4 separate regions of the Homo sapiens genome follow, and all the other regions are linked to region 4. Evidence: promoter capture Hi-C in human tissues and cell types (Jung and others, 2019). All regions are on one chromosome and are shown on one strand. The core of a region is centred on a gene start or on the middle of the fragment in contact, and the rest is flanking DNA. Distances in the headings are between cores, read along the strand shown. Region 1 has its middle 260 kb from the start of MIR5702. Region 2 has its middle 130 kb from the start of MIR5702. Region 3 has its middle 300 kb from the start of MIR5702. Region 4 holds the start of IRS1 (insulin receptor substrate 1).

Region 1 (6,587 bases), core at 294-2,793, 400 kb after region 4:
CAAGTGACTGAGTTCCACCCAGTGGGGTTAACAGAAATGATGTGTATAGCTTATGGGTCTAGCCCACTAAAATTCCCAAAACCCCTTTCCCTAACTGCTGTTGGAATCAGGAGGTCTCTGAGGATGTGGTGGAGTGAGAGGCAAAAGGAGCTTAGAGCAGAGTCTTCTCTTCTCACTGCCCTCAAATAACTCACATTGCAGTGGGACATTAAACAATTAATTTTTATTGTGTTAAACTAGTGAGAATTGGGAGTTATTTGCTATAGCAGTGGTCTTACCTAACTGATACAGTATCTGTGGAAACTATGTTTGTTGTTTTGAGCATGTGGCAAGCTCTACAGAGGTTTGGAGCAAAGCCATGTTTTCTCAGCAAGTAATTGTTTTTTAAAGGAGACAGACCCTAGCTTGTTACTGGGACTTCATAGAGACAAAATGCAAGGTGACCATGCTATCCAAGCTATGTCCATCATGCATTCAGATTCATCTGATTGACTGAGCCATGAAGCCAAGCGTTGCCATGGGTGCTCCTTCATCAAGTAGAAGTTGAATTCATGGAACGTGACTCAAGCTTGTCCTGTTGGCACAAGGTGGCTAATAATCCCACAATGCCTATTTTGCCACACTGCTACTTCTTTCTCAAAATGCTATTATGGCCTCAAAAGCAGTTTCCAAATGACAGTGGAGAGAAAAACAGATTCATTTGAGATGATTTGCCATGACATGCTGGCACCAGTATCACAACCTGCTGCACGGTTGCTCCTGAGAGCAGTCGGAGAAGAGAAATCCTCCAGGTCCATAGAATTTTTTGTACTTACTAAATTTTGAGTTCATAGGTAAAGCAGATACCCTCAAAGCATATTCTCCACATTGTGAATAGTCTTTTAAATATTAATTGGATAATGTCACTTGCTTGTACAAAATTATTCTGTAGCTTACTATTATACTTCGAATAATTTTATACTCCTAACTTCTGTCTACAAGACCATGCAGGGTATAGCCCCGGCTGGACTCTAGAACTTCAGTTTGAACTCTTATTTATTTTGCTGCTCTAGCCACTGCCTTTATTTCAGTTCCCCAAAGCACAAAACTCTTGGCTCATTGAAGGTTCCTGTGCAGACCTTCACCTTGGCTAACTCACAGTATGGCTGGGCCTTTCTAATCATTCAGGTTTTAGCTTGTGACCCCCTCTGATAGATCCTCACTGATCTTTCAACATAAATTAAGCTTCCTCTGTTACTATACATTTTCCAACTTTTCTTTGGCTCTCTGTTCTTTTCCTTCATAGAAGGTACCACTATCTATATAATTGTTTATGTGTTATTTTACTTAAAAGTCTTTACTAAGTCATACATTCTGTAATAGTGAAGTCCATGTTTATTTTGTCCACCATGGGATGTAGAACACCTACACAATGCTTGGCTCATAGTGGGTAGATGAGAAACTTTGATTGAAGGAAAAAAAATGAACAACAACAAAAATGAATAAACAGCTATCCCATTTGGAAAGACATTAAGCAGAATGTGAGTCCCTAGGCCAAGTGCAAGTGTACAGGTACTGGGAGAGTCATTTGATTCAACAGAGCCATGGGGAAGAAAAAAAATAGAAAGCTGGTAGAACAAAATCAGTGATTCTGCCTGGGATGTGAAGAGGTAGGTAAGACACAGATATGGAGGATAGTGGAACAAGGAAGGTCTTATAGATATCATGGTCTAGCCAAAGATGAACAGAAACTTTCCCAGGCCCTCCAGTGGCACTTTGAAGGGATAGTTTACCTAACCCTGACTGGCTTCCTATATTCCTTCATTTTCTCATTCTTTCTTTTTCTTTTTCTAAACAAAGCAAGAAGACATAAAGCAACTAAAAAATTGAATTTTGGCTAAATTATTGAGGAAGATAAAGGTAATTCATAGCCAGTGAAATTTCCAGGAGCCTCCTAATTTATTCATTCAAGAAAAACAGTATATACATTACTGTTCACCAACAAAATAAAGATTAATTTTCCTAGTAACATGTTTAGTTTTTTTCCAGAAAAAACTATTGTAAAAATGTTTTTATAGGCCTAGACATTCTGGAAAATACAGCTTGTAATTAAAATCCTAATAGCATCAAGAGAGAAAATTCCAGATTTCCAACTGAAAGTCATCCCTTAAGCTGATTAAACATTAAAATCAAAGGAACACACACCCACATATAAAGAGCAGACACTAAAGGTCATAATTTTGAAGGTGAAAGATTAAAAAGTAGAATTTCCTGAGGGTGACTGGATATTACTGTTAATTTCAAAATACTTTTGGTTGCAGTTACTGTTTTCAAGATGCCAGAAAATCCTGTAGTCATTTCAATCACTTATGCTTAAAAATTTCCCCGTAGTAATAACATATTTGCTAGGACACTCTTACAAAAGGAATGATGAGAAGTTTTATTAAACATCTGTAGTAGATCTGTGAGATTAAAGAACTTGGCTGCTTTGTGATATGTTTATTCCTTTCTCCTTGTGACAAAGACATTTTCCTTACCAATATTAAAAAGAGTACTCCGATGTATATTTAAACTCAGGAGTTATACCTGTTTAAACAGCCAAATAAGACTCCCATAAGAAATTTGTTGTAATCATGGGTGTATCAGACAGCGTTATTAATGGCAAGCAACAGAAATGAGCTAATTTAAGTAGCAAAGAAATTTGTTAGGAAATACGTAACAGCTCATTAAGTCTTCAAGAGGACCAGAGTTCTGACTTGTGGGATATGCAATCAGGAGCAATGCCCTAAACTACACATAAAGCTATTACAGCATTACCACTGCACACAATCATGGCGCCCAGTGCCATCAACACCTTCTGGGCATTTCTGTCCCTACAAACTGGATGCAGGTGCTCATTCTGCTGCTTCTGCCCTGTCCCCAGTCCACCACAATGGATTCTATGTGGAGTCTGTTTTCTTGCATCTTTATCATGAGATTCATAGTTCAGGGAAGATTCATCTGATTGCGGGAGCCTGGGTTATAACTCTGTGCCATAGCTTCTCAGATTCTGTATTGAGAGGTAGTCTTTTCCGTAAGGCAGACGTGTTTCTTGGACATAGGGAGGATGATAGATTCATGGGTGATCTAGAGAAATAAAAAATGTCTGCATAGTGGAGTTTGATTTTGATTTTACTTCGTGTAGTTTTATTCTTTTAAAAATAAAAGAATCTCCAATTTCTAAAGTATTTAATAAAATCAAAATGTTTTGGGAGTATAAGACCTGGGTTCACAGCAAATCTTAGGTAATTAAGCTCATCAAGCTTCAGTTTTCTCTCGTGTGTGTGTGTGTGTGTGTGTGTGTGTCAAATTCCCACATTGATTAGAATTTTATTTCATTTTTCTGCTTCATATTGATACTGGGATATTCCAATGAAATTATGTGTATGAGAACAATTTGAAAATTTAGATGAAAGGGATTTAGAGTCAAATAAAAGCAGATTCAAATTTGAGCTTCATCTGTTATCACATGTATGACATTAGAGTTGTTATTTAAATTATCCAAGCTTGAGTTCCCAGTGTTAAGTAGGGATAAAACAGCTTTCAGAATTCTTAGGAATGAAATGGGATAATTTGATTAAAAACTTGGAATAGTGTGTTACACATAAAAGGAGCTCAACAGAGGGTCATGTTTGTACAGAAACACACACGTGCACACACATACAAATTTAAAGAAGCATGGCAATGATATTAATGCTTTTCTTAGATAGGAGCTGTTGGAGCTGAAAATAAGATGAGGATAAATTCCTCTCCTAATATGTAATCATCATTTCTTATATGGTATAGTTAGAAATGAGAAATATGTTATTTTTTAAAAAAAGCTTTCCAGTAAATTTTTAATTATAAAGCATTGTCATTGATGAAAACATACAATTATCAATATGTTACCACTGAGAAAATCTCCTCAAATTCTGAATACAAATAAAATCTGAAAGTGCAACATAACTTTATAGAAAGATAAGTAAGGGAAAGGGCATTTTCATCAAATATCATTGTTGCTTTCTCTTCATCCATGTTTTCTTTTAATTGCTATTTTGCAAACAATAACAATAGTAATTATAATAAAAACCATTTTGAAAAAAATACCATCTCTTTTTCTTTTCTCTTGAGACAGGGTTTTACTCTGTTGCCCAGGCTGGAGTTCACTGGTGACTTCTTGGCTCCCTGCAACCTCCACTTGCCGGGTTCAAGCGAGTCTCATACCTCAGCCTCTCAAGCAGCTGGGACTACAGGTGCATGCCACCACACCTGGCGAATTTTCTGTAGTTTTAGTAGAGATGGGTTTCGCCATGTTGGCCAGGCTGGTCTTGAACTCCTGGCCTCAAGTGATCTGCCCACCTCAGCCTCCCAAAGTGCTGGGATCACAGGCATGAGCCACTGCACCCAGCCAAAAAATACCATTTTGCAACTGTATTATCTCTTAAGTTCTTACACAGAAATAATAAACATTATACAATTTACATTTCTTTAAGCACATTCTGAGAAGTACCTCTTACTCAAAAGTCAAATCAACATAGAACCTCACAAATTCCATCCACGTTAAGTGCTACATTTTAAGATATCAAACAACACAGCCTGTGAATTTTCCATTTACTGTATTAGATTATTTTTTCTTCTTTTTTTATGTGGCTCCTCTGATTTTGACACATAGTCTCAATCTCTCATAAGTCAAATAGTGTTGCCAACAGAACATTTTTAAGTTTCATAGTAAGCAGGTCATTGTTGACCTGCCATCATTCCTTGCCAGACATGTGATTTTTATTTCTGCAACATAGTGAATATTTTTTCTTTTAAAAATTGTATATATTTAAGGTGCACAACATGATGTTTTGATAAGCACATACACAGTGAAATGGTTACTATAGTAAAAATTTTTTCCTGTTGGGGTAAAATTTGCATATAGTGAAAAGCACAGATTTAATGTGTACAATTTATTATTTTGACAAATGTAAAACATTGGCATACTTAACACCCCAATCAATACCTAGACTATTTCCACCCCTGTAGAAACTTCCCACAGGTCCCATTCCAGTCAACCACTACCCCCACAGCTTGTGGGCAAGCAGTGTTCTGATTTGTATCACCATAGATTCGTTTCGGTGTTGTTGAACTTCGTATAAACGGATTAATTCAGTTAGCACTCTTGCATCCAGCTTCTTTTGCAGGACATATATATTTTTTAGATTTACCAATATTGTTCTATTTATCAGCAGTTCATTTTCTTTATTGGTGACAAATACATCATTTACAATTTATTGACATTTTTCTGTTGATGAATTAGAAGGTTTCTTTTGTTTCACTCTTATTAATAAAGCTGCTGTAAGCATTATGGCTCAATTCCATTTGTAGACATATGTTGTCCTTGTGCAAATACCTAGGAATAGATTAACTGTGTCATATGATGGATGTATGTATAACTTTTTAAGAAATTGTCAGATGGTTTTCCAAAGTAGTTATGCCATTTTACACATCTACTATCAAAGTATGAAATTACCAATTGCTTAGCCAATATTAGGTGATTTCAGTGTTTTGCTAATTTGAGGTATTGCAGTGATTGTGTAGTGGCATGTAAATGTGGTTTTATTTTGCATTTCATTGATGACTAAGGACGTTAGTACCTTTTTCTATCTACTTGGGTCATTAGAATACCTTCCTTTATTAACCCTCCAGGTTTTGCCTACTTTTTATCAGGTTGTTAATCTTTTATTAATGACTTGGATGGCTTTTAAGTACATTCTGGACTTAAGTCTTTTGGCAGATATATATTTTGCAGATACTCTGTTCATTTCAATTTTTCAGTCTATTTTTTCTCTGTTGTTCATATTGTGTAATTTCTATTCTCTCTTCAAGTTCACTGATTCTTTTCTCTGTCTTCTGGTGTTGAGCCCACTCAATGAGTTTTTATTTCAGTTACTGTATTTTTCAGTTTTAATATCTTCATTTGGTTCTTTATGTCTTCTATTTTTTTATGAAACATTTTTTGTTTCAAGCACAGTTGTAACTGCTCACTGAAGCATTTTTATAATGATTTCTTTAAAATCTTTGTCAGCTAATTAAAATATATGTCATCCCAGTGTAGGCACTTACAGCTTGTCTTTTATCATTCAATTTGAGATGTTATCTTTCTGGTTCCTGATCTGATGAGTAATTTTCAATTGATTCTTGTATATTTTGAGTATTTTGATATAAGACTTTGGATCTTATTAAAGTCACCTCCTTTAATAGGCCTCCTCTATACTGTGCTGGTGGGAGAAGTGGCCACTCACTGCCTACTCACTGCCTCACAGAGATGGAACTCCCAGTTCCCCACTTGGCCGCCATTGACACTCAAAGGGGAAGAGGTGCCTCATTACTGCTGGGCAGGGGTGGAATTTCAGGCTCCTCATTAGTAATCCCTGACACTACCCTGGCTGGGATGAGCAGCAGTGACTTTTTACTGCTCTCTATATGGCTTCTAATGACATGGCAGATGGTTGACCTCATTACTGGAGGTGCTACAAGGCCTTCTCTGATACCACCTGAATGAAGAGGGGTAGGGATACTTCATTACAGTCAGGTGACCATGTCAG
Region 2 (5,659 bases), core at 815-3,314, 270 kb after region 4:
CCCTTCATTAGTCATTATGTTTTGCTCTATTTTGCCTTTGGAACAACATTGCCATTTTCTGGTGGAAAACACAGTTTGTAACCATCTGTAATAGAAATCAGTATGACTGTTTAGGAATAAAAGCCAGAAAGCCTAGGACTAGGGTGACAGTGAGCTCTCCAACCAATGCCACTCTTCGGAGCTGTTCCACCTCTAGTAAGAGTGGCTTACTAAGTAGCCCTGTGTCATTCAGTCATTGGCTGGGAGCAGCTTGTGAGAAGCAAGGCTTTGGATCAAAAGTGGTGGTAGATTCTGGACATTGCAGCTGGAGACATCAATCAAGTACTTTCCTTATTGTGATAGATCGAGTCACATTTTCATGGCTGCCATGTCAATTAAAAGTCCTGTGATTCCAAAGCTCCATTGTTTAAAATGAGTTTGGCCTCACTATAATTTAAAGAGTTCAGGAATTTGAGTACTGGGAATGCTTAAAGGTTAGGTTGAAGAGTATGTTGGACAGAAGTCTTGATTATAAAAATTTGAAGCCCAACTCACAGTACCCTAAGGAAAAGAAAATGCATTTATGGTCTCATGTATGTAACTGAAGAATCAAAGGTAGTTGTGATATCTTTTAGGGATAGGTGGGCTGGGAGGTCAGATGATGTTTTTCGTTCCATCTTCAGCTCTGTTTTCCACTTTATTGGCTTTTCCTCAGGTATGTTTCACATTCTCTTTCCTAGACATGTTTTCCTTATAGTTATTGACACCAGAGAAGAGAGAAACCCTCCTCTCTGATAGTGCCAGCAAAAGCCCTTGGACGGACACTCTTTGGCTCGGTATGGATCAAAGTCCTTGCCAAAACCAATTGCTTGACTTGAGAACGCTATTCTCTGATTGGTTGAATTTAGCCATGTGTTTAGCCTTATGCCAGGAGAGGGGAGTAGAATCAAATCATAAATACCTGGCCAAGTGGAGGAGCAACACTTGTTAACAAACAAAAACAAAATGATGCTGGGTAAACAAAAGTGTTCACCAAAGAGGAGATTTTTCTTCTCAAAGCTTCAGTGATGGTGGTGATTTTTGAGATGGGTTGATTATGGGTGAAAAAGCTAAGAAGTTTGATGGTTGGCTGAGGATACAGTGCTTTAAAAAGATGTTGACTGAGAAAGCAGATGAAATCAGTGGTAGAGTGTTGAATCTGGGGCCCTTTCAGGCAGGATAAAGCCCATAGATTACATATCCCCTACACTGCTGTTACTCTTTGCAATTTAACTTAGAACATCAAAATATATCTTCAGGCAGCATGCCTTCTAGGAATAGACATTATATGGCACGTTAAAACCTAACTAGATAACAGAATTCTAGAAATTCAGAGAGAGAAGAAATACCATGGGCTTTTCCCTCAGTATATTGCTCTTTGGGGCAGAAATGTTTTAAAATTTGTTTTCCAGAATATTTGAGTTCATAATTATAAGTTTGGCTCAGCAAAGTTTATCTTCAAATACATGAGATTTTATAGTAGTTTTTGGATCCCAAGTAGGCTTGTTCTGTGTTTACCTCCTTTAAAGTTCAAGGTGTTGACTGACTAATCTGATAAATAAAACTCTTGGGTGCTATGTTCATAATGTTCTGGGAAAGAAACTTCTTGGGTGTGTATTTTACCTAGTGTCTTCCTGGAACAAGTCTCAATGTTTCTTTTATAACTAATTTGCAGAGTCAGTCGTGGTACTGAGTAAGACTAGCAGTTGGAATATCTGTGTCCTGGATCATGGCTCACTGTTGTGTGTCCTTAGGCAAACCTTTATCTTTTTAAGTGAAATGGGGTTAAAAATACATTTCTTAAAGAATTATTAAGCTAATCAATTGAAAGAATGCACGGGACGCTGTACCCAGCTATATAACGTGAGCGTTGTCGTCACATTGCTCTCAGGGATGGGAAATTCAGGCCAAAGGTGGGGATATAATAGAATCATCAATTTTCTTTCTTTCAAATTGTTACACACAGGATGGAATCTTTCTGCCTACACCCTGGGTGGCTTCTGCCCTTTAGCATGCTCCAAATAAGAGCTGGGCTTTTACAATTCAGAATTCAGGCAAACCTCCTCATCCCATGGGTGGTTCTATGAAGAGACCCTCTTACATTCACTTCTCTTTGTTTCTGTAATTGTCAGTTTCTAATTTATTTCCTTTGAGAGAGAGTTTATCTCCCCATCAACTCATTAGTGATTTAATATGAAGTAAGCTGATTATAGGCAATCTGAACAGCCAATGTTCACACTGCAGAGAAATCAAGCTAATAATGCCTCTCAAGAATACATTTGACATTTGAACAACATGAGAGTTACGGGTGCCAACCACCCTGTGCAGTTGAAAATCCACATGTAACATACTTTTGACATTCCCAGAACTTAACTACAAATGGCCTGCTGTTGACCAGAAGCCTTCCCAATAACATAAATGTTTATGAATAAATATTTTGTGTGTTATATGTATTATGTACTATATTCTTACAATAAAGTAAGCTGGAGAAAAGAAATGTTAAAATCATAAGAGATAATATATTTACTGTTCATTAAGTGGAAGTTTATCATCATAAAGGTCTTCATCCTTGTAGTCTTCACATTGAGTAGGCCAGGGAGGAGAAGGAGGTGGGGGTTGGTCTTGCTATCTCAACATGTATAAGTGGAATTGAGATGCTTTAACCCATGGTGTTCAAGGGCCAACTATTTTTCTCCTGGACCTATCATGTCAGCTGATCCTATTAGATTTTACATGTGGTCTTTCCAGAGGAAAAAAAAAAAGAAATCATGAAGCTATCTATATATTTAGAAAGAAAGGAAACCAGAATGTTTATATATTGCCACTTGGTTCTGAATCTGTTACTTGATTGGAATATCCCAAGATTCAGTCTGAATAAGAATGTGAGATAACATTACTAAACGGTTCAGGGAGTAGTTGGAGAAGGTAACTAAATTGTAAACAAAGAAGATTCACACTGGGTACCCAGGGAGAAATGAAGGAATTTGAAACCCATCCGAATCCTTTCCTTTTAGTCTGTCTCCAAGAGGCTAAAACATCTGGTGAATCACGTCAAAGATTCAATCAATCATTCCTGTGTTTGGATTTTATGATGCCAGACATCTGGATCAACTGAGTTTCTCTTTTCTTTAATTGAATCAACTGGATGTTTTGGCTTCCTGCAAAGTCAGCTTCAGTCTAAATAATACACATCATAGTCCTATGTCCTATTTGTACTCTGACTCAATTTTGATACATTTTGTTTTGGTTTTAATTTGTGTTAACATAACTTATAGATTTAAATAGTTTTGCATATTGTATAATATTTTGGGCATTAATATGAAAGTCTTAATAAATAAATCAGAAAAACAAAATCAACTGTTTTACTCTTTTCTGGAAGGCACCCTGGATGTTGGCACTGATAAATGGAAGTTGAGAGGGCTAAAGAACAATGTTAAATAATTACACAGATAGGGCTCAGCAGAGATCAAAATATCCTCTCTGATGTAAAGACAGCTGGCACCGACAGTAATTTTAACTGTGTGTAACAAGAACACACAATTTATATAATTTATGCGTTCCTAGGTTTTTTAGTGCATAGGAATTTGGTCTGGTTTTATGTTATTTTCAAATATCCTTTGCTTTCTTATCTGGAAAGGCTTCTGGGCAACTTAATGACTGGAGGAGATTTAAAAAGAGATGAAAAGAAACCATGAACACATACTGGTTTAATGAAATATCATATTTTCTAGGAGAGAAATCAAACCTCAAAATAGACAAAACAATGTTTATTGCTCTAAATATACGACATGAAACAACAGAAGACTTTTGGAATAACATCTTATACCTTACTCCTTTATGATGTTTTTGTGGGGCCTGCCTAATACACAAGTCAAAAATGGATGCTGCTTTCTCATTTATGGTGATTCTGTTCTTTGATTTTAAAGAAATAAAAGACTAATAGAGAATAAAGTAGTGTCTTTGTACAACTGTAGTTAATTCATTGGTCTTTTGAAAGACCAATTAATTAGGATTTCATGATTTTATTATAACCATTTGGGCCAAATTGGCTAAATATTTTATATTTAAGTTGTGAGATCTATGTCCAAACACAGATATCTAAAAGTTTTTACTGAAACTAGGCTCCATTCCTGCAAAAAGCCCCTAATGTGCCCTAAGTCAGATCTTCTTTTGCTAAAGTAAGAGTTGGAAGTCCACTTTGATGCTACTTTGCCAGATGTGAATACTTCTTTCTTTATTTTTCTGAAGTTGATTTTTTTTTTTTTTGAGACAGAGTCTCGCTCTGTCGCCCAGCTGGAGTGCAGTGGCTCGATCTTGTATCACTTGTATCACTAATTTGTATCACTTTCAACGGCAAAAACTGCAATTACTTTTGCACCAACCTTAATAACAATGCATACTATGGAGTTCTTAAAGTTTTTTTACCAGTTTGATGGGCATAAAAATATCCAATTTGGCCGGGTGCAGTGGCTTATACCTGTAATCCCAGCACTTTGGGAGGCCGAGGCGGCCAGATCATGAGGTCAGGAGATCAAGACCATCCTGGCCAATATGGTGAAACCCCGTCTCTACTAAAAATACAAAAATTAGCTGGGCATGGTGGCAGGCATCTGTAGTCCCAGCTACTTGGGAGGCTGAGGCAGGAGAACAGCTTGAACCCAGGAGGTGGAGGTTGCAGTAAGCCTAGGTCGTGCCGCTGCACTCCTGCCTGGCGACAGAGGGAGACTCCATCTCAAACAACAACAACAACAAAATTTGATAGGCAAAAGCATTTTTTTTCAACCTGCATTTTTAAATTATGATTATTGAACATATTTTCTCTTTTCTTGCATGTTTAATATTTAACCATCAATCAGCTGTTTCCTTCAGGTGAACATAATTTTATATATGAGGGAAACATGCAAATTTATTTTGGCATATTAAATAACTTATATTCATAGTTAGATTGACACATAAAGTGTTAAATGAACACAGAGGTGATGTCAAAACTGTCCCAGTAAATCCTTGTTCATTCATTTTAAGGTTAAAATTAACTGTGCTTCTTTTTAAATCTTGCTTTCTTTGAGTATTGCTCATAGAATAAGAACCTATCTTTATTGAAGGTCTCTGCTCTTCTCTTCTCCCTCACTGTATCCTCTCCATGGATGGCACACTTTATCTGATTTACTGGAAGGCAAAATTCTGATATCCCTTTATCCAGATTCTCTAAGTGATGAGATAAATGTACTAAAGGTCCTAGTCATTGTTATGAGTGAAATTGTGTCCTCCAAAAAGATATGTTGAAATCTTAACCTCTGGTACTTGTGAATGTGACCTTATTTGGAAATAAGTTCTTTGCAGATGTAATCAAGTTAAGATGAGGTCATTAGTGTGGGCTGTAATCCAGTGTGACTGTTCTTGAAAGAAGCGAAAACAGAGACAGAAGGAGACAGCCATGTGATGATGGAAGCAGATATGGAGTTGTGTAGCCACCAGTCAAGGAATGCCTAGGGCTACCAGAAGCTGAAAGAGACAAGGAAGGATCCTCCCACAGAGGTTTTGGAGAGAGCTCAGCCCTGCTGACATCTTGATTTCGAACTTCTAGTGTCCTGAATTGTGAGATACTTTTTTGTTATTTTAGGCCAGGCACTTCGTGGTCCTT
Region 3 (6,407 bases), core at 1,601-4,100, 440 kb after region 4:
TTATGCCCAACAGCAAGTGATATAGTAAAGGAATAAACATGGAGAAAGGGTTGAGTTCCGTGGGTCATCTCAAGGAAAACGCTTGATCTTCCTGTACAGCAGCATTCTCTTCTGTAAAAGGAGAAGTTTATTTGTGTAAATTCTCTCGGTTGTTCTGGAAGGATTAAATAGCCAATGTCTGGAAGCAACATGAGCGATTCTGAAAATAAGGCTCTGGGAATCTGTGATTTTCTTTCTCAGAAGGATTGATTGCTTCAGCATTGGAGCTTGCGTGCATTATGTGTACAAAGCTAGGAGTGAGGTTCTTGTCTCGAGAAAGGAATTTATTTAACAAACACGTATGTAGTGCTTACTATGTGCCAAGCACCATTCCAAGCTCTTTACAGATTTTAACTAGTTTAATCCTTGCAATAACTCTGTGAAATAGGCACTATTGTTATATTCATTTTATAGGGTTTCATTTTATATTCATTTTATAGGGAAACTGAGCCCCAAAATGGTTAAGCAATTCACTCTAAATCTTACATTTACTAAGTGATAGAGCAAGGATGTAAACCCAAGCCACCTGTGTCCAGCTCCCATGTTTCTAATCATGATGCTATGCCACTTCAAAGGAATTTTCAAGAATTCACTGAAAGTCACCCCCATTCTGTACTGTAGAGGTTGGTTTATTTTAAAAATAATCTTACTAATGTTGCCTACTTCCTGATTACTAGTCAATATTTATCTCACACGTGCAAGCAAATCCTGAACTTAACCTTTCAAGGGTGATTCTTCCTCTTAAATGCCATGATCCATGAACTAACCTAACCCTTCACATCACACTTTCTTGAATGTATTTTATGTACAGGTTGAGAACTGTCAACAAGAGAGAGGAAAAGTCTTTTTAGTGGATCCAGCGGGGAGGAATCTCAGCCCAAATCCACATGCATTTAGGAAAACCTCTAAGGAGAGGGAAATTGTTTTGAGGATTTTAAATCTATAAGCTTAGCAGATTCCCCACTGTGCTGATGGACAAGATTCACTTGACTAGCCCCGCCTCAATGTAACACCATCTTCTTGGCCCTTAGTGAAATTAGCTTGACTGCAGATGACATTCAGCATTTGATCAAATTTAATGTAATGCAGCTGGAGTTCCAGATAAGCTTAATTAATTTCCAAAGTGTCGCTGTTTTTCCTAACATGAAACTTGGGCCGATCCTAGCTTTCTTTGCTTCAAACGTTAATGCAAGTCTAAGTACCTGCTTTTCAATCCAATAAAAGAGAAATCCTGAAATGTATGTCACCATCAAGCCATTTCATTTCTCTCTGAATACATACATAAAATTAAATGCCATCAACCTCAAAATCGGCTGAAGGGTTCAGAATAAAGCAATCTCCTTGAAATAACTGCTATCTGTAAGAGCTATCATAAAACATGTGAACATCATCTCTGACTGCATTAAGTGACTTAGTATGATATTCTTAGAGTCTTGGTGGCACTTTACAATCAGAATTGTTCTTTAATAAACTCTTTCCTAACAGCTTAATACCCCTCACTCAATAATTACTTTCATAATCCATTTAAAGGGCAGGTAAGTATTATTCTCTGTATAAGATGAAGGAAAATGTGGTAAGTCACCAAATTTGAAAAGTGGTTGTTAAGGTTAAGGCAAAAAAAAATTAATGTTGACAATGTTAAAAATCAAACATAGAATAGACAAGAAAACATATTTAAAAACTCCTGTAGGCAGTGAAAAACGCTCCCTAGTTTTATTTTTAAGTACCTAGACAATTATAAAATGCCCTTCACCAAATTCCTGCATGCCTTCTATTTTTTATTTTCTGGAGAACAATTGGTGTGTACAGGCTACTTAAAAGGTCCAACCAAGGGGTTTTAGGTAGATGGAAGGGTGGTGTGTATATACTTTTGCTGTAGTAATGCACTCATCTAGACACCCTCTATACAGGTGAGATCTAAATGGCTTCTCAGCTCTGCAGTTGCCCTGCTCTACTTGCTTTCTTGAAACTGACAGCAACTCCAACAGCTCAGCAGTGGATGTAGCCTGTGAACTGCAGCTCAAGGGCAGTGGTGGGCATCTGTTCTCACTCTCTGGGTATGAGCCCTGTTTCCTTTTTGCTCCTGCATCTCATGTTTATGCAACATCTCTTTAAATAATTAATTGCTTCCATTAATGCTCCTCTGTTTAAAGTACCTAAAATAACTCAATTTTCCTGGATGGATGCTAAGCTTAATTTCAGCAGACTCATAGAAAATAAGTGATACTTCTTTTATCTTAATCATTAGGAACCATTCTACTGGCAAGTATTTTCAGAAGGCGTTTCTAGAACAGGTTGTAGCAGGTTTTCTTTAAACTGCTGGAGGTAGTTTAAAAGCTGTTACCAAGCAATACTTAATCAATTTCATTTATTCACTAAACATTTACTGGTTGCGTTTATTATATACATGTAACATTTATTCCTAGCTTTTAAAAACTTTTCTCTCACATTTCCTACTTAGTCTTAACTAGACCACAAAACAAGAATTTGTTCTGAAGTAGAAATAAGTGCTGGTTTTATTTAAAACCTCTAGTTTGCAAGGAATAAAGCAATTCTGATCACTCTAAGCAAAACAATAAGGCAATTAAAAATCTTGAAACTGTTGAAGGAACTTGAAACAGCTAGAAAATTGCCAAGCATCTGTAAACTTCTAAAGTATGTTTTGAAACATCACTGAAGAAAATAAACTTAAATTCTACAATGGACTTTGCAATCTGCTAACACCACTAGATAAGTGTTGCTTTCAACTTCTGCAAGGCTCATGGAAATCTCAGTGGTAGTGCAATGCATGGTTAGCCTGGAGAATAAGAGGCAGCTGCAGGGGACTAGAGACAAGTGGCCAAGAGGTACAAAGCCAGCCTACCTGAGCTTGAACCCTGGCTCTGCCAGTCATTACCTAGAGTTCTAGGGTATGGCTTTCTTATGCCTGAGACTGATGGCTAAAATTATAATTATTGAGTCAAACTCATAGGGTTGTAATGAGTATTACATGTAAAGTACTTAGAATAGTATCTGGGAGATAGTAAACATTCAATAAATGTTATTATTAACAATTATTATTATAGCAAGTTACCTGGAGTCTAATAAGTAATTTACCTCTGACCAATCACCCACTTCAAACTTGCTCCTCCCCCTTCCCTCTGTCTCTTTTTTTCTTCCTTCTTTCTTTCCTTCCTCCCTCCTTCCCTTCCTTTCTTCCTTTCTCCCTTTCTCTTTCTCTCTCCTCTCTTTCCTTTCTTTGTTCCTTATTTCCTTCCTTCCTTCCTTCCTTTGCATCCTCTTTGCTTCCTTTCTTCACTCCCTCTCTGTCCTCCTCCTTGTTTGCAATTCTGTCTTTCTGTTGGCTTTTACCTTCTTCCTCCCTCTCTTCTTCCCTTCCTTCCTTCTTTCCTCCTTTCCTCTCCTTCCTCTTTTCTTTCCTTCCTTCTTTCTTCACTCTCATTCTGTCCTCCTCCTCTGTTTGCATGTTATTCTTTCTGCTGGCCTTCTCTCTCCATCACTCCACTGTCTCCATTTGTCTGCTTCTATCACCCCACCTCTATTTTTCCCCACCATCTTCCACTGATGGCCATCAGTCTCATTAGTGTCCTTCTTTAGTTTGTTATGATCTGTTTAAAATGCATATTTCATTACTCACTTGTTTTAAATAATCTAAAATTTTTATACCTCTGGATTAAAAAGATAAGTAACAGTAGGCAGGAGAAATGTTTTACTTCTTTAAAAGCAAATCCCTGAGATCTAACTGAAACCATTTTAGACATGCCACTGCCCAGGTTGGCAGCAGCAAATGGAGATTTCTTCCCTTTCATTATGATAAAACATCAAGGGCTTCCTAGCAGGAAAGAGAGACAGAGGAATTAGGACTTCTACAGGCTCTAATAGATTAGCACCTGCAGTCTGAGCTTCGCTCAAATACAGAGGAAATTGGACTGGGCACAGTGACTCATGCCTATAATCCCAGGACGCTGGGAGGCCGTGGCGGGTGGATCACTTGAGATCAGGAGTTCGAGACGAGCCTGGCCAACATGGTGAAACCCCAATTCTACTAAAAATACAAAAAAAAAAAAAAAAAAAAAGAAAAGTAGCCAGGCTTGGTGGCATGCACCTGTAGTCTCTGCTACTTGGGAGGCTAAGACATGAGAATCGCTTCAACCTGGGAGACAGAGGTTGCAGTGAGCCGAGGTCACGCCACTGCACTTTATCCTGGGTGGCAGAGCAAGACTCTATCTCAAAACCAACTAACCAAACCAACCAACCAACCAACCAACCAACCAACCAACCAACCAACCCTCCCAAAACATAGGAGATTGGTCAGTGCACAAGACTCTGGGGCCAGATCCCCCAGGCAGCTCACAGCACTAAGCAGGGGCCTGGCTGAGTAGAGATCTGACTTGGAGGGCAGCCATGGCCAGGCAGTTGCAGGGAGATTTCCTGTTGTGGGGGAAGGGGAGAACTAGAGGCCCTCCCAGGGATTTTCTGAGGCTGGGAATCCTGTGTCTGTTAGGTAAGCATATCTGTAGTGACACATCTGTCTCTACTTGCCTGTATTTCAGAGCAATTAAGGAGACTTTAAACATAAGTGAGGATAGAATGACCAAGAAAAACTCAAGTGCATTCCAAGGCCCATGGTGTCATGCATGCTTGGGAAGGCCAATATCCTTGTGCATTTGTTCACTTATTTAGTGGAAGGTCCACTAGAATATGGGCAAAAGGAGTCACTTGGTAGACAGGAAACTTTTTATTAAGAGATACCTATGATGAAGCTACTTTATAAAAAGTCAGAATTATTTCTTGTATGAAATACTTATATCACTTTTAATAACACATAATGATCCTTATGATAATATAAACAGAAGTGAAATCTGAATGGGAACAAAATTTTATTTTCCTTCCCTCATTGAAAAGCCTCCCACTTTGTAGCTACTTCTTTTAGGGTTGTTACAGAATGATACACAGCCTATCTCTGTCACCCGGTATGTGGAATTCTTAGAATGAAAACCTGTGTAAGTACCAGAGCTCAAATACTTAACAGAATAATTACAGTGTAACCAGTGTTTCCACTTCCTTATATGTTATATTTTCATCAGCATTCTTAATAAAATGACAATTGAAGAAGCTGACTGAAAAGCCACTATCTTTGAGAACTCCTGGTCTTGAATTCCCTCGTGTTTCTGACATTTATAACGTTGCTTGCAGGACACTTTCATCCACTGTACTAGTTTGCATCTGTAGAGTGTATTTAGCTTCATAAAGCTCTTTTATATGCATCATATGATTTTGCATTTGTGGACTACTTTAGTGTTTATGAAGCACAGTCACCTAAATGGTATCATTTGAGTTTCACAACAATCTTGGTGTATTCATGAGGGGCCAACTGGAAATCGGCAATTTTAAAATATCCCCAGGTTGCAAAGGTAAGAGGGAAGAGGTAACCTGCTCTTGTAATGAAGCCACATTAGAAACCTGGGCTTCTCATTCCTTTTCCTGCAGGAAACCACCAACCAGTACAAAAAACCTTTGCAGATTTATGCAAAGAGGGAATGATGCACAGAATCTCGAACAGAATTTATGACAAAATTTCCACAAGCTGGGTGCAGCCCTAAGCGTAAGTCAGGGTAGGAGTGTCGCCCTTTTCCACGTTAAATCATTCCAGCTATATGAAGCACATTAAGATGACAACTGCAGGACACGGCCTTGATTTAGAACTGAGCCACACACCTGTTCATCTAAATATAAACAAATTTGTAACCTGAGCTCATGGCAGTCACTTGATGGTGAGCAAGTGAAAGCTGGGGCTGGTGCCTGCCTGCAGCCTGGCTCTGGGCTCACAAATGCACAAGGGCCAAGGAAGCACCCTGCCAACAGGATATTTGGCATTGTGTCTGGTGGTCACAGTGATCTTCTATCTCACCAGAGAGATTATAATTATTATCCTTCTTATCCGTATTGTTATTTTTAAGTGTGCTTAGTTTGCTCTTGTGGCTCCTCTTGTACCCAGCTTGTTGAATGTTCCAGGCCTTCTTGGTTCATATATGTGCAAGTTGCCTGAGTTGCTGTGTTTAAAGAAAGCGTTCTCTCAGGGAACTTGTTTGCTGGGCTCCAAAACACTGAATTAAATCTTACTGTCTATGTGAAGGCAATATTCTTTCAGGTTATAAAGTCCTTGATTATTCAAAGTAGGTAACTATTTCTTGATACTATCTATCATGCCTCTTTCTGTTGTTGCTCCAAGGGAAAGAGACCATGCTGAGTCCCTTGGAAAAGTTGCACATTATCCTTTACGGGTGGGATACTACAGAGGCAATGCAGATGACAGTAATCCAGTGGCAGGCATGTCACTGTGCATGTGGTAGAACTGGACAGAACTG
Region 4 (5,615 bases), core at 2,196-4,695:
ATCAAAGCTGTAAGAAGCTGTCTTTTTATCTATTTCATATTGCCTTGCAGAGTAAGCATTCAAATGCTTATTACTATTGAGCCATCTTAAAATAAAAACAGATCTTAAAGTGAGAAAATCCACATTCAATTGTCCTTCAAGCACTGTTCTAAATTGCCAAAATTAATTCTAAGAGACGCCAGTATTTAAATAGCTCCTCCAGTTATGACCCATACATCTTAAGGAAAACATATGTTTTGATACAAAAAGTGTTTTATAATTTTGAAATGTTTAGTTTTACATCCACCCAACTCAAGCACTTTACAGATATATGTAATAATCTATAAATTTTGCATTATTTTCCTGATAGTATCATACATAAACCAATAACTCAATTTTAAAGCTAGTTGTAGACCTATTGCCCCAAAGTGCGTCCATAGCATGTAAACCCTTAACTCCTTGAATTAGGACTGTATTAGTGACATCAACGTAGCTGTTGCAATGTTGTGATGAAATCACTATTTTAGCCCTCTTTTAAAATGAACCTTAGCATATTACACAAATCGGCTCTAACTCTCCTATAGATGGCAGCATTGAGCAACAGATTTTGGTAATAGCTTGTTCTTCTGTTCCGTGAATTTTCAGTGGGGAGTAAATTTTTCATACAGTGTATTTCATTACAATACACCAAAAGACTAATTTAGCTTAGGTGACAGAATAATACCCATACCTGCTCAGCATTACTTCAGTGAGTTCCCACAAACGCGTCTCTTTCTATTCTATATATTACATGAACCAAATGTAAATGAATTTCCAGTTAGCCCATTAATAAAACAATTGTAGAGAACAATTGAATTTACTGTAGTATAATTATAACAAATATTAACCACCTTTAAATTGGTAGTAAAACATCAGCAAGTAGAAAAAATGGCACTAATATCCTATGATCAGTGATTATCTTCCATAGGAAACCCATTGGTCTGAACATAATTTGTCACAGCAGTGAGGCTTATTTCATAATTTTTATCGAATATTTAGCAACTGAAATTGTGTTTTTTAAAGCAGAAATGCTTTAACACTGAGAGATATATTTTTTAAAAGGTTTATTATCATAATTAGCTTTTTATGATCAAAATCCTTCCTATGAAGATAATTGTGAGGTACGTGCAAATAAATTTTCCAACCCTCCCCTCCTTCCAGAAAAGAGTATTTTTCCCCCATAGAGGTACAGTACCTTTATTTAGCTTTTTTTGGGGGGTGGGGGGTGGAGGGACGGAGGTAGGGACAGGGCCATTTGAAAAGTAAATGTCCATGGATTTGATTTGTTGTCTTACAAAATGTTAATTACTCCACTACCCCCATCCCAGCGCTAAACATCAAACCTGTGAAAAGCCCTTTGGCCTTATCTGGATTACATTGTTACTAGTAAACAACCCTTTTATAATCTCTCTTTTTTCTTGTCTAGGGTAAAACCAGGCACACAGTTACACTTTTCCACCAACTTCAGGCTTCTTTATTCTGCACCTCCCTGCCCTACCCCCTGTAAGGCACTCTATACCCCCAGAATTTCGGTCACTGTGAGTGCCGCCTCGCTTCCATTTCCAAATATCTGCTATTAATAGCCTTGCTGTAGTGGGCACGTGTGCCCACATCACCAAGCTGTCAGAGGAAAAGAAGGGAGGGCTTTCAATTCAACATGTGTACTCAAATTATAGATTAACCAGGTTTAGATGAGGCTGCATGACGACCGGGAACAGGAAGGGGAGAGGAGAAACGAGAGGCTCCCAGGCTTGGGTGGGGAGGAGCCCCTCTGCAGATGCCCAATCCCCCTAATTTACGTATCGCACACCCCTGAATGGCGCCTATGGTTCTTTTTCTCCTTCATCATCATCATCTTCTTTTTCTTTTTTTACTACGCTTTGCAACCTACCTTGGTACCCTCAACCCTTCTACCCCCACCTTCCCTCTGCAGTGCAAGGCTTGAAAAACAGGCCATCCCACCAATCAGCAGGCCTCCCCGGGAAACTCGCTCCGCCCCTCAGCCGCATTGGGCCGAGGCGCGCTCCCCCGCGGCCCGCCGGGTCCCAGCCACTGAGCATGCCCAGCGCCTCGACTGCTGAGTGCCCAGCCAGCATCCTGCAGTGCCTGGGAGCCTGAGGCCGAGGAGGGTCCCGGCGTAGTAAAGGGGCGGCAACCCCAAACGGGCCAGGCATCAAAATGAGACAGCATTAAACCGAGTGACATCTCTGTGGGTCCTTAGTGCCAGGCGAGCAAGCAGGGACAAACTGCTTGTTTATAGGTCGGCTTAAAAAATAAAAAAACTCTGGGGAGCGTTTGTTTGTGGGGAGACTGATACCGCAAGGTGACCCTGAAAGGGGCGCTTCAAGTAGACCCAGGCTGCTGATCTGGTCCACTCATGAAGTAACCATTTTCCTGTACAGTTGAGCTGGCACCATCCTTGTTTTCTCCCTGTTATCCTTGTGGTCAAGGTTAAAAACTTATAGGGTGGTTCAATGGGTGTGGGAGCTGTGTGTGAAACAAACATTTCAGCCAATATTTGCACAGTAGGGTTTTGGCCTTATGAACCCTCTGAAGGTCCCTAACAGCTTTTTAAAGTCACGGATAGACTTCGGAATATGATAAGGGACCTCTCATTTCCCCTCCCCCATGCCCTCAGCCTTAGGTGTGAGTCCCCCCGTCACACGGATGGGCAAGGGGAGCAGGAGAAAAGGTGATATTTACATTTTCTCCCTACTTGATCAGCAACTAATTCCACAGCGCCGGACGTGAGACACTTCCTGGGGATCCCTGTTCTCCTTTTGTAGTGACCATAACTGCCCCCAGTCACTGCCCTTGGGCGTCCCTCTGTTCCTTCCAGGTACCTCACGGCAGCAAATCTGGGGATCCCAAGGTGGAAGGCTGGCCCAGAAGTCCTTTAGAAAAACCTTAAAAAATACAGATCCCCTCACCATGGCCTATCGCCCTGAAGCCGAAATCTAGCTTTTAAATTTCCTGGGGGAAACAGCCTTGACTAGAAACCTCCCTCCCGTGGGTCAGTCTTACCTGATAGGTAAGAGGCAGCCCAGCTCCGGCGCCCCCGCCTCCCCCCGGCCTCCCACTCGGGGCTCTGTAGCCGCAGTGCCCCCCCGTGGCCCCCCACCCTCACTCCTGCGTCTTCCCGAGCTCGCCCCCTCCCGTTTTCCCAGACTCCCCTCGTGCTTTCGGGTAGCCACCCAAACACCCCCGCCTGCGCCCGCCGCGGGGATTCCTGCGGGCCGGGGGCGCCCCGGTTGGCGCGCGTGTAGGGAGGCGCTGCGCCGGAGCTGGCGGCCGCGCAGGGGCGCTGTCCTAGCGCTGCGCCGGGGTCGGCGCGGGCGCCGCTGCAGCACGGCTGGGGGGCGGAGAGGGGCGGGCGCGGGGCGGGCTCGGCCCGGAATGTAGAGACCCGGGCGGGAGCCTCCCGGCGGCGGCTGCCCGGCTGCCGAGCGCGGAGGCTCCGTCACGTGTTTTTCTCCTCCGAGTGAGACGGCGGCGCGGTCGGAGGGGGCCGGCGCGCAGAGCCAGACGCCGCCGCTTGTTTTGGTTGGGGCTCTCGGCAACTCTCCGAGGAGGAGGAGGAGGAGGGAGGAGGGGAGAAGTAACTGCAGCGGCAGCGCCTCCCGAGGAACAGGCGTCTTCCCCGAACCCTTCCCAAACCTCCCCCATCCCCTCTCGCCCTTGTCCCCTCCCCTCCTCCCCAGCCGCCTGGAGCGAGGGGCAGGGATGAGTCTGTCCCTCCGGCCGGTCCCCAGCTGCAGTGGCTGCCCGGTATCGTTTCGCATGGAAAAGCCACTTTCTCCACCCGCCGAGATGGGCCCGGATGGGGGCTGCAGAGGACGCGCCCGCGGGCGGCGGCAGCAGCAGCAGCAGCAGCAGCAGCAACAGCAACAGCCGCAGCGCCGCGGTCTCTGCGACTGAGCTGGTATTTGGGCGGCTGGTGGCGGCTGGGACGGTTGGGGGGTGGGAGGAGGCGAAGGAGGAGGGAGAACCCCGTGCAACGTTGGGACTTGGCAACCCGCCTCCCCCTGCCCAAGGATATTTAATTTGCCTCGGGAATCGCTGCTTCCAGAGGGGAACTCAGGAGGGAAGGCGCGCGCGCGCGCGCGCTCCTGGAGGGGCACCGCAGGGACCCCCGACTGTCGCCTCCCTGTGCCGGACTCCAGCCGGGGCGACGAGAGATGCATCTTCGCTCCTTCCTGGTGGCGGCGGCGGCTGAGAGGAGACTTGGCTCTCGGAGGATCGGGGCTGCCCTCACCCCGGACGCACTGCCTCCCCGCCGGGCGTGAAGCGCCCGAAAACTCCGGTCGGGCTCTCTCCTGGGCTCAGCAGCTGCGTCCTCCTTCAGCTGCCCCTCCCCGGCGCGGGGGGCGGCGTGGATTTCAGAGTCGGGGTTTCTGCTGCCTCCAGCCCTGTTTGCATGTGCCGGGCCGCGGCGAGGAGCCTCCGCCCCCCACCCGGTTGTTTTTCGGAGCCTCCCTCTGCTCAGCGTTGGTGGTGGCGGTGGCAGCATGGCGAGCCCTCCGGAGAGCGATGGCTTCTCGGACGTGCGCAAGGTGGGCTACCTGCGCAAACCCAAGAGCATGCACAAACGCTTCTTCGTACTGCGCGCGGCCAGCGAGGCTGGGGGCCCGGCGCGCCTCGAGTACTACGAGAACGAGAAGAAGTGGCGGCACAAGTCGAGCGCCCCCAAACGCTCGATCCCCCTTGAGAGCTGCTTCAACATCAACAAGCGGGCTGACTCCAAGAACAAGCACCTGGTGGCTCTCTACACCCGGGACGAGCACTTTGCCATCGCGGCGGACAGCGAGGCCGAGCAAGACAGCTGGTACCAGGCTCTCCTACAGCTGCACAACCGTGCTAAGGGCCACCACGACGGAGCTGCGGCCCTCGGGGCGGGAGGTGGTGGGGGCAGCTGCAGCGGCAGCTCCGGCCTTGGTGAGGCTGGGGAGGACTTGAGCTACGGTGACGTGCCCCCAGGACCCGCATTCAAAGAGGTCTGGCAAGTGATCCTGAAGCCCAAGGGCCTGGGTCAGACAAAGAACCTGATTGGTATCTACCGCCTTTGCCTGACCAGCAAGACCATCAGCTTCGTGAAGCTGAACTCGGAGGCAGCGGCCGTGGTGCTGCAGCTGATGAACATCAGGCGCTGTGGCCACTCGGAAAACTTCTTCTTCATCGAGGTGGGCCGTTCTGCCGTGACGGGGCCCGGGGAGTTCTGGATGCAGGTGGATGACTCTGTGGTGGCCCAGAACATGCACGAGACCATCCTGGAGGCCATGCGGGCCATGAGTGATGAGTTCCGCCCTCGCAGCAAGAGCCAGTCCTCGTCCAACTGCTCTAACCCCATCAGCGTCCCCCTGCGCCGGCACCATCTCAACAATCCCCCGCCCAGCCAGGTGGGGCTGACCCGCCGATCACGCACTGAGAGCATCACCGCCACCTCCCCGGCCAGCATGGTGGGCGGGAAGCCAGGCTCCTTCCGTGTCCGCGCCTCCAGTGACGGCGAAGGCACCATGTCCCGCCCAGCCTCGGTGGACGGCAGCCCTGTGAGTCCCAGCACCAACAGAACCCACGCCCACCGGCATCGGGGCAGCGCC

The links. The method cuts DNA at HindIII sites, captures the fragments that hold promoters and counts their contacts. A contact is called where the count stands out against the background at its distance.
Region 1: a contact is called between a fragment that was not itself captured here and the fragment with the promoter of IRS1 in region 4, in 1 of the 25 tissues and cell types used here (heart left ventricle).
Region 2: a contact is called between a fragment that was not itself captured here and the fragment with the promoter of IRS1 in region 4, in 1 of the 25 tissues and cell types used here (mesenchymal stem cells).
Region 3: a fragment that was not itself captured here is called in contact with the fragment with the promoter of IRS1 in region 4 in 1 of the 25 tissues and cell types used here (mesendoderm cells).

What each region holds. Positions count from the first base shown.
Region 1 is chr2:226,392,528-226,399,114 of GRCh38, reverse strand. No RefSeq gene overlaps it. Among named protein-coding and RNA genes, the nearest start is that of MIR5702, 260 kb to the left of the region's middle. The HindIII fragment of the contact is 3,720 bases long and covers 1-3,403 here.
Region 2 is chr2:226,524,363-226,530,021 of GRCh38, reverse strand. No RefSeq gene overlaps it. Among named protein-coding and RNA genes, the nearest start is that of MIR5702, 130 kb to the left of the region's middle. The HindIII fragment of the contact is 4,194 bases long and covers 1-4,161 here.
Region 3 is chr2:226,352,776-226,359,182 of GRCh38, reverse strand. No RefSeq gene overlaps it. Among named protein-coding and RNA genes, the nearest start is that of MIR5702, 300 kb to the left of the region's middle. The HindIII fragment of the contact is 3,567 bases long and covers 1,067-4,633 here.
Region 4 is chr2:226,797,650-226,803,264 of GRCh38, reverse strand. It overlaps IRS1 (insulin receptor substrate 1), which reads left to right and starts at 3,445. Exons shown (of 2, transcript NM_005544.3): 1 at 3,445-5,615. The coding sequence starts at 4,527. It also overlaps a transcript of RHBDD1 not described here. RefSeq lists silencers at 1,907-2,116, 3,077-3,146, 3,167-3,586, 4,577-4,626 and an enhancer at 5,357-5,615. The HindIII fragment of the contact is 12,102 bases long and covers 1-5,615 here.